2 separate regions of the Homo sapiens genome follow, and region 1 is linked to region 2. Evidence: promoter capture Hi-C in 16 types of primary human blood cells and fetal thymus (Javierre and others, 2016). All regions are on one chromosome and are shown on one strand. Each heading gives the region's core, a stretch centred on a gene start or on the middle of the fragment in contact. The rest is flanking DNA. Distances are from core to core; before and after follow the strand shown. Region 1 overlaps VPS9D1 (VPS9 domain containing 1). Region 2 holds the start of MC1R (melanocortin 1 receptor).

Evidence for each region. Contacts are between HindIII fragments. The CHiCAGO score rates a contact against its expected background, and 5 or more counts as called.
Region 1: a fragment that was not itself captured here is called in contact with the fragment with the promoter of MC1R in region 2 in 1 of 17 cell types (M0 macrophages); the score reaches 5.5 in M0 macrophages.

What each region holds. Positions count from the first base shown.
Region 1 is chr16:89,705,757-89,710,349 of GRCh38, forward strand. It overlaps VPS9D1 (VPS9 domain containing 1), which reads right to left. Exons shown (of 15, transcript NM_004913.3): 11 at 4,021-4,150; 12 at 3,471-3,679; 13 at 3,101-3,200; 14 at 2,671-2,775; 15 at 1,378-2,198. The coding sequence ends at 2,105. Among named protein-coding and RNA genes, the nearest start is that of VPS9D1-AS1, 3.8 kb to the right of the region's middle. RefSeq lists enhancers at 474-653, 631-1,131. The HindIII fragment of the contact is 2,952 bases long and covers 1,809-4,593 here.
Region 2 is chr16:89,915,006-89,920,111 of GRCh38, forward strand. It overlaps MC1R (melanocortin 1 receptor), which reads left to right and starts at 3,857. Exons shown (of 1, transcript NM_002386.4): 1 at 3,857-5,106. The coding sequence starts at 4,254. LOC124903759 (keratin-associated protein 5-1-like) reads left to right here. Exons shown (of 4, transcript XM_047435031.1): 2 at 1-135; 3 at 2,871-3,042; 4 at 3,846-3,965. The coding sequence ends at 3,950. RefSeq lists enhancers at 2,626-3,511, 3,512-4,395, 3,748-3,797, 4,396-5,106 and a silencer at 4,297-4,578. The HindIII fragment of the contact is 10,478 bases long and covers 1-5,106 here.

The DNA.
Region 1 (4,593 bases), core at 2,035-4,534, 210 kb before region 2:
TTTTATTTTTATTTTTTGAGACGGAGTTTCTCTCTGTCGTCCAGGCTGGAGTGCAGTGGCACGATCTCAGCTCACTGCAACCTCTGCCTCTCAGGTTCACGCCATTCTCCCGCCTCAGCCTCCCGAGTAGCTGGGACTACAGGTGCGGGCCACCACGCCCGGCTGATTTTTTGTATTTTTAGTAGAGACGGGGTTTCACCGTGTTAGCCAGGATGGTCTTGATCTCCTGACCTCGTGATCCGCCCACCTCGGCCTCCCAAAGTGCTGGGATTACAGGCGTGAGCCACCGCGCCCGGCCATTTGTAGGATTTCTAAAAGGAAGCTGCTATTATTCATTCCTGTCTTATGGGGGAGCTGCAGGCTCAGCGAGGGCAAAGCTGCACAGCAAACAGCAGCACTTGAACATGTCTGCCGGGTCTCAGCGCCAGGGATACAGCTGAGCCAGGACGTTCCCGGCCCCCACAGTGTGCAGGCTGCAGGTGTGGCCCCGATGCCAAGCCAGCAGGGGCTCCCACGCCAGGATTTGTTCAAGACACAGCTCATCTCCACCATTCTATGAAGCGGACTTTAAAATCCCATCTTCTAGACACCAACGCTGAGGCCGGAGCAGCCCAAGCTCCAAGGCACCGTGGCCAGCTGGGGTTCGTATCGAGGGCTGGGGCAGATGCTCCAGCTCTGCCCCACCCAGAGAGACACTTCTGTCTCCCTATGGGGTCCTTGGCGGGTAAACCAGCCCCTGCTCAGGGTGCAAGCACAGAGCATCCCACCGAGGTCCACAGCTACTGCTTTTAAGACTGTTTCCCTGAGAACAGCAACACTGCCCCCCAGCCAGCTCCTGGTAGCATCTAGGGTTGGGACCTCCCACCCCACCAGCCCTGCCACCTGCCTCCTCATGGCATCTCAAGGTGCCAGGGGTGCCTTTCTTGCAGAAGAGCCCTCCATCCTGATCTGCCCACACCGCCCTGGCAGATGCTGTCCACGCCCGGCAGCCTTCTGTGCACCTCAGAGCATGTGTGTGTCGCCATGCACAGAACGATGATTCCTGAGACCCTCGGGTGACTGCTCTGGGCTCAGGTCCCCAGTGATGACCTGGACCCCAGCCTCACCCCACCCTTCCCACCCACTGATGCCCTGCAGAGCTCTCCTGTCCAAGAGGGTGAAGCCCACACCTGCCTGGCCAGGCACAGCCCCAAGAGGACCCTGCTTCTATGCAGAGGGTCTCGGAGGCTGGCAGATGTTCAAGAGGTTGGGCCAGGCTTGGTTTGGGGCTGGGCTGTGGCTCGTCCCCCACATCCTCAGCGGCCTCTGCCATGGGCAGCAGGGGTGGTTGTGCTGCCTGGCCAGTGGGGTGGGGATTGAGGGAGCCACACGGCGAAGCACAGCAGTGAGCTCTTTATTTTAGGCTGGGTGGGGGCAGCATGTGACAGTCAAGAGGGCTGACCCTTGGGCTGCACGGACCTAGATAAGATGCCCAGGGTCCCGGAATGTTCACAGCCCACAGCCAAGGTGAGTAAGGGGCAGGGAATGTCCTGGGCTCAGAGCCCGAGACCCTGCAGGGGTGTCCCTGCCCATCAGCAAACAGCATACCCTGACACCAGCTGCACCCCAGGCCCCAGCCGGCCCTTGTTCCTGACCCAGACAAGAAACTAGTTCATGGGGCTACAACTCCCCTTCTAGGGGTCAGAGGGGAGAGAAACTGGACTGCCGTCTCCACTGCTGGCCGGCTCATGGCCCCCTCTTCCCTGATGCTCCCCAGGAGCTGCCCCAGCCAGATGTTCATCGCTGAGCCTGCACCCACCGAAGCCCAAAGCTTCCCTTCTTGGCCTCTCTGAGGCCTACACAGGAGAGCAGGGCCTGGTTCCTCCTGGAGCTGATTCAGCCCCATTCTGTCGGGGCAGAGGTGCCAACCCCAAGCTCCAGGGTCAGATGTGAGGTGAGGAAGGTGAAGAGCTGGAGAGCACACCACAGTGGACAAGCCCCCACCATGTGCAGAGCAGCGTGAGGCTCCAGGATGGTCCTCAGTAGATCCCATGGCTCCAGGTGTAGGAGAGACAGCCCTGGGAGGCGAGGCCAGGCCCTGCAGGGACCCTGGGCTCTAGCTGTACTACTTGGCCAGGCCTCCCCGGGGCAGCAGCTCCACGTAGCTCAGGGCACTCTGCAGTGATGTGAGGCAGTAGCCCTCCTCTCCGATCAGGTACCTGCATGGATGGCAGGGGCAGCCGGTGTCATCTGAACGAACAGAAGGATACCCCCGGCCCTCCAGAAGGTAGTGTCTGCCCTCCCAGTTCAGGACCTGGGTGCTGAGGGTGGGCAGGTGGGGCTGTCAGGGCGGCTGGGCTAGAGGAGGCCTTTCCCACCCACTATGTGCTCGTCCTTGGACGGTAGAGCCAGGGATGGCACTGGATCCTTATCCCCTCCCCAGGCAGATGCTGCTCAGGGGACAGCCCCCAGCTCCTGCTGTCTGGGAGAGGCTGAGCTAAGCGAAGGGCCACGGGACATGTGGCAGCAGGCACTCTGCACAGGTGGACCCACAGGGGCTGCCCGAAGGCATGGCTGTGACGGAGCCACACGCTACCCTCCCCAGCTGCTACTGACAACCACCGTTTAGGTTGAGGGATGAGGTCCCTGCTCTTCGCACAGAGACCCCCACCCTGACCCGCCAGGGTCTACCCCTCGTGGATGAACTCCTCCAGGGCCGCGCACTCCGACACCAGCTGAGGGAGGCCGCTCCTCAGCACCACGAAGGACAGGATGGGCAGCAGGTCATCGGCACCACTGTCGGGAGGGCATAGCGGCCTTGGGTTGGGGCCAGGAGCCTCTCACTCCGCAAACCCAGCAGCTGTGGAGCCATCCTGGCCGTGCTGGCCGCCATCTCTGTGCCCTTCTGCGCAGAGGCACCGGAAGGCAGCTGGGCATGGTGAGGCTGTCCCTAAAGGGAGCTCCCGTACTGCGGAGCCAGGGCTGGGCCCACACGGCCCTCCTGCTTCTACAGTGCAGCCAGCTGGCACAAGGCTAAGGGGCAGGAAGATAGTCCCTCCCGTGACCATTGCCTTTCTAGGGCCCTTCCTCCCTGGCCACACCTCGCCCTCCTGGGACTCACATGGCAGCTGCAGCGATGGGCGGGGGCCCGGCCTGGGGTGTGGCCTCTGGGGTGGGGCAGTAGTCTTCCGCACAGACACAGATGATCCGCAGGGTCCGCACTGCGCCCCAGACAGGGTTTCAGGGGCAGTTAACCCCGTCCAGCAGCCTGAGCCACCCCTTATACCCCGCCCACCCACCCACCTCCTGATGTGCACGGCTGGGAAGAGCCACGGTGACCCTGGCGATGTTGCTCAGACACCACTTTTGTTCTGGTCCCCCAACCTCCCCACCGGCACGTGACAAGAGAAGCTCAGTGGTGAAGACACAGGCTCCAGGTCACCTACTGGGATGGGAGCCTGTCCCTCCCCCTGACTCTCGAACCTGCTGACCTATGCACTCCAGCTTCTTCTGGGGGCAGCTCTCCAGGACCAGCAGTCCGAGCTCCTGGGCCGCCGCGCAGTAGGGGTAGCCAGTGGCCCCCTTGGCCTCAGGGTTCTGGGGGAGGAGCTTGGTGGGGATGCCAATGGCGGTGGGGGGTGCATTCCTGTAGAGCTCCATGCTCCTGCTCAGGGCAGCCTCCCGGGCTCGGTGCACGCTCCTGGGGCAGAGAGAGGCCAGGCTAAGCTGCCCCAGGGACCTTGCCCTGGGGACAGAAGCAGGGCTGTGGCTGGAGCTCAGTCCTGGAGAAAACTGGCTATGTATCTCAAGCAAAAAGCCCCAGCGTTGCCAAGACCCCAGGCACGGGAGAGTGGCAATAATCCTACCTGCAAACTGGAAGCCCCTGAGGATGGCCTCAGGGTAAAGCACAGGCTAGGGGGAGCAAACACGAGTCTTGGGGATGGAGGGGAGCAGACAGTGCCAGGGAGCAGGGCAGGCCTCCTGGGGGACTGGGCTGGAAGACACTAGGCCACGCAGGTGGTTGTACAGCTGGGTCCATACCTGTACAGGGCCAGCAGCAGAGGCCACAGCGGGGAGAAAAAGGGTTCCTCAATGCAGGCCAGGCAGCGGTCCTTGGAGGCAGCTGTGTTTAGGCCTTCGAAGGCCAGAAGGGTCAGCGAGAGCAGCCTGTCTGCTAGGAACAGAGCCGGGGACGTCCACAGAGGCTCCTCCCCTGCTGGGTCAAGTGGCTCTAAGCCACGGGGCCTTTCTCCGCCCAAGAAACCTCTTTCCACCGCCTTCAAGCCTCCTGCACCCACCCCTGACCCTCCTCGGCCCAGGGCAGGGAGTCCGGGACTGGAAACGGTCACCTACAGCTGCTGCCCTGTTGGGCCAGCAGCCTGAGAAGAAACCGGAGAATGATCCTTTTCTCAAAAGGGGCTTTACCCAAAACTGCAGGAACCAGGGAAGACTTTAGATCCAACCCCCTGTGGGTGGGGACCCTGACCAAGTTCCTTAGTGTGTGGGCAGCACAGTGAGAATGACGCCTGGACTGTTGGGCCTCCCTCAGTGGTTCTTAGAAAACTCTGGGCTGGGCGCGGTGGCTCATGCTTGTAATCCCAGCACTTTGGGAGG
Region 2 (5,106 bases), core at 2,607-5,106:
AGGCCCTGGATGCCAGACACTGAATAAACGCAGGAAGACGTCTGTCTTCATTCTCCTCGTGGGTCGCTGGTCCAGAAACACCTGGATGGAAAGTGCTCTGCAGGAACGGTGCCTCTGCCTGTGGCGGGGACCCTGGTGAGCGGATGGGCCAGCCCCACGTGTCTTCCGGCCACTCAGCATGCAGTGTTTCCAGGGGCACTAAGAGACCAAAATCGAGATATGATTAGCTGTAGGATGTCATCTAATCACAGATCATCCCGAGGCTAATTTATCTCCCCCATGACCATAACACATCAAAAAGTTGACTTTTTGCAGCTCGGCTGTGCCTCATCTTCCCACGAAGCCCCGACAGGCACATCCAGTGAGGAACCACAGTGGGAGTCCTGTGGCAGGGTCACCCCACTTCCGATGCCCTCCAGCTGCATCTTGGCACGAAAAAGGCTGCCCAGTTCTCATGCCCTTTCAAGTCCCGGGCTGGGGGGTAGCAGTGGAGGCTGGGGTTAACCGCCGTCCGTCTCAAAGGCCTCATTGTGGAGCTGCAAACACGAACGTCCTTGAAATGTGAGGGGACAGTGCTCTGGGGCAGGGGCTGCTCACTGGTTCATGGCCAGAGGTGAGCGGGCTCTGGGTCTGGGTCTGTGAGGTGCTGTGGACGTCGGGGGTGCTCCTGGGGCAGGGACACAGCCACGGCCCTCACACCAGTGGAGCCGTCTTCCTTCCCGAGGCAGAGGCTTGGCCTTCTCACACCTTGGGACCCTTCTCTCCCCTGTGCTCATGCTGGAAGCACAGCGTGAGGGGGCAAAGGTCATGGGAGGCAAAAGGCTGGGCTGAGGCCGAGGCTCTGTGGCTGTGGCCGGATACCAGGTCCTGTGGTGGTGTGGGCAGGGCGCGCTCTCTCCTCTGAGCAGCCTGGGGCTGCGTGTGTGAACAGAAACAGGCCTGCCGATTTGAAGATGGTTTGACCAAGTCTCCCAAAGCTGAAGAGAGGTCCCTGCCCATGTCCCCCGGGTGGCAATCCACAGACGCACCTGTGTCCATCAGACGGTATCGTTGATAGGGAGTCTGAAGCCACCCAGACGTGGTCTGTTCACGCCGTGGACACCACGGTCTGAGGCAGACGGTTACAGCCACCGGCATAGGCGAATCTCAGCCAGAGAGAGTGAACTGGGACACCATTCACGTGATGGGCCAGATGGGCTGGCAGCGGCTCGCTGGAGCCGTCCGGGTGGGAACGCTGTGTCTGTTGGTCTGGTGCTGCTTATGTGGCTGGTTCAGGTCTGTCATCCGTCAACCTGCATATTTATCACTGGTGCATTTTCATGTATGTTGTACCTCAATTAAAACATTTTAGGGCCGGGCGCGGTGGCTCACGCCTGTAATCCCAGCACTGTGGGAGGCGGAGGCGGGAGGATCATGAGGTCAGGAGATCAAGACCGTCCTGGCCAACATGGTGAAACCCCATCTCTACTAAAAAAAATACAAAAATTTGCCGGGTGTGGCGGCACGCGCCTGTAGTTCCAGCTACTCAGGAGGCTGAGGTATGAGAATTACTTGAACCCAGTAGGCAGAGGCTACCGTGAGCCAAGATCATGCCACTGCACTCCAGCCTGGGTGACAGTGAGACTTCGTCTCAAAAAAAAAAAAAAAAAAATTAAAGCAGATGGGGTGTGGGGGCTCATCCCTGTAATCTCAGCATTTTGGGAGGCTGAGGCGGACCGATCACCTGAGGTCAGGAGTTCAAGACCAGCCTGGTCAACATGGTGAAACCTCATCTCTACAAAAAATACAAAAAATAGCCAGGTGTGGTAGTGGGTGCCGTAGTCCCAGCTAGTTGGGAGGCTGAGGCATAAGTATTGCTTGAATCCAGAAGGTGGAGGTTGCAGTGAGCCAAGAATGCACCACTACACTCCAGCCTGCGCGACAGAGTGAAACTGTCTCAAAATAAATAAATACATAAAAATTATATGTATATATATATATATATATATTTTTTTTTTTTTGAGACTGTATCTCTGTTTCCCAGGCTGGAGTGCAGTGGTGTGATCTCGGCTCACTGCAACCTCCGCCTCCTGGGTTCAAGCAATTCTGCCTCAGCCTCCCAAGTAGCTGGGATTATAGGCGTGCGCCACCACGCCTGGCTGATTTTTGTATTTTTAGTAGAGATGGAGTTTCACCATATTACCCAAGCTGGTCTTGAACTCCTGACCTCATGATCCGCCTGCCTCAGCCTCCCAAAGTGCTGAGATTATAGGGGTGAGCCACTGTGCCCGGCAATAATAATTTTTTTTTTTTTTGAGACAGAGTTTTGCTCTTGTTGCCCAGGCTGGAGTGCAATGGTGCAATCTCGGCTCACGGCAACCTCCGCCTCTCATGTTCAAGCTATTATCCTGACTCAGCTGGGATTACAGGCACCCACCACCACACCTGGCTGATTTTGGTATTTTTAGTAGAGACGGGGTTTCTCCATGTCGGCCAGGCTGGTCTCGAACTCCTGACCTCAGGTGATCCACCCGCCTTGGGCTCCCAAAGTGCTGGGATTACAGCCCTGAGCCACCATGGCTGACAATAATAAAAAATTTTAAAGCAAAACTAAAGATTTATAAATTGTAAAATGCGGTTGTAACAAGTATTTACTGTACCAGTAAATATGAAAAATATTAATGTCCTCACACACATGGAGGTGGCTTGTGAGTGGTGTGAGCATTTCATGGTCAGAGTTTGGCAGTTGGGCGAGAGACAGGATGGATTTTAACTCGAACATCGCAGACACAAAACTGAAAACCCTGATGCGGTGCCTGCACCGTTGCCTCCTTTCCTGCAGCTGTAAATGGGACGAGTAATTCCATCCCCCTCCCGCTTCCACCCTTCAGCACAGACGCAGTCTTCAGCAAGGAAGTGCTGGGAACGCCCTGGAGTGAACCCAGGAAGATGCCTGCAGTGGGTGCCAGGGCCCCTCTCCACCGTCCCTGCTGGGCTTCGGGGCCACGCCCGACTGCTGTGAACGGCCTGCGGAGCACCACGTGCGACGGCTGGAGGCGAGAGGTCTGCCTTTGATGTGGCTGTTGGTGCAGGGCCTGTGGTGCCTTCCGCAGCGGAAATGGCGCGCCGCCCGGGGAGGGCGGGAGCAGCGTCCCGGGTGCCCCTGTGAGGATGAGCGACGAGATGACTGGAGGGTCCCTGAAGACCTCACTAGGGTGCCCCCAGCCGGTCCGCTCCCAGGAAGCGACACCCCCACAGCCCCAGGGCTGCAGCTGAGGGGGTCGCCACTCTGGCTGGGCGAGGCTGGGCCCTTGGGGGCAGGCGCCAGAGTGGCCTCAGGCTCTACAAGATGCCTGAAAACACCAACCTCTCCAGGGCTCACTAGCATTGGACGCTTTCACGCTCTGCCCTGGCCGGAAGCCCCCTCACCCCGCGCGATGTGCAAACTCCTGCAGGGCTCACTCAGTTTCCAGAACTTTAATTATTGGAAAGTTCTCCCTGGTCCAGCCCCCAAATCTGCCGTGAACGTTGACAGCTGAGTTGCTGCTCCATGCGTGCTTTGGCTGAGAGCAGAGGGGACCCCTGTCCTCCCTGAGCTGCTGACGAGGGGAGGGGTGAAGGGTGGGGCCTCTGGAGAGGGCAGGTCCCGGGGAAGCTCCGGACTCCTAGAGGGGCGGCCAGGTGGGGGCCCTGGTGACCAGGACAGACTGTGGTGTTTTTTAACGTAAAGGAGATCCGCGGTGTGAGGGACCCCCTGGGTCCTGCACGCCGCCTGGTGGCAGGCCGGGCCATGGTGGGTGCTCACGCCCCCGGCATGTGGCCGCCCTCAGTGGGAGGGGCTCTGAGAACGACTTTTTAAAACGCAGAGAAAAGCTCCATTCTTCCCAGGACCTCAGCGCAGCCCTGGCCCAGGAAGGCAGGAGACAGAGGCCAGGACGGTCCAGAGGTGTCGAAATGTCCTGGGGACCTGAGCAGCAGCCACCAGGGAAGAGGCAGGGAGGGAGCTGAGGACCAGGCTTGGTTGTGAGAATCCCTGAGCCCAGGCGGTAGATGCCAGGAGGTGTCTGGACTGGCTGGGCCATGCCTGGGCTGACCTGTCCAGCCAGGGAGAGGGTGTGAGGGCAGATCTGGGGGTGCCCAGATGGAAGGAGGCAGGCATGGGGGACACCCAAGGCCCCCTGGCAGCACCATGAACTAAGCAGGACACCTGGAGGGGAAGAACTGTGGGGACCTGGAGGCCTCCAACGACTCCTTCCTGCTTCCTGGACAGGACTATGGCTGTGCAGGGATCCCAGAGAAGACTTCTGGGCTCCCTCAACTCCACCCCCACAGCCATCCCCCAGCTGGGGCTGGCTGCCAACCAGACAGGAGCCCGGTGCCTGGAGGTGTCCATCTCTGACGGGCTCTTCCTCAGCCTGGGGCTGGTGAGCTTGGTGGAGAACGCGCTGGTGGTGGCCACCATCGCCAAGAACCGGAACCTGCACTCACCCATGTACTGCTTCATCTGCTGCCTGGCCTTGTCGGACCTGCTGGTGAGCGGGAGCAACGTGCTGGAGACGGCCGTCATCCTCCTGCTGGAGGCCGGTGCACTGGTGGCCCGGGCTGCGGTGCTGCAGCAGCTGGACAATGTCATTGACGTGATCACCTGCAGCTCCATGCTGTCCAGCCTCTGCTTCCTGGGCGCCATCGCCGTGGACCGCTACATCTCCATCTTCTACGCACTGCGCTACCACAGCATCGTGACCCTGCCGCGGGCGCGGCGAGCCGTTGCGGCCATCTGGGTGGCCAGTGTCGTCTTCAGCACGCTCTTCATCGCCTACTACGACCACGTGGCCGTCCTGCTGTGCCTCGTGGTCTTCTTCCTGGCTATGCTGGTGCTCATGGCCGTGCTGTACGTCCACATGCTGGCCCGGGCCTGCCAGCACGCCCAGGGCATCGCCCGGCTCCACAAGAGGCAGCGCCCGGTCCACCAGGGCTTTGGCCTTAAAGGCGCTGTCACCCTCACCATCCTGCTGGGCATTTTCTTCCTCTGCTGGGGCCCCTTCTTCCTGCATCTCACACTCATCGTCCTCTGCCCCGAGCACCCCACGTGCGGCTGCATCTTCAAGAACTTCAACCTCTTTCTCG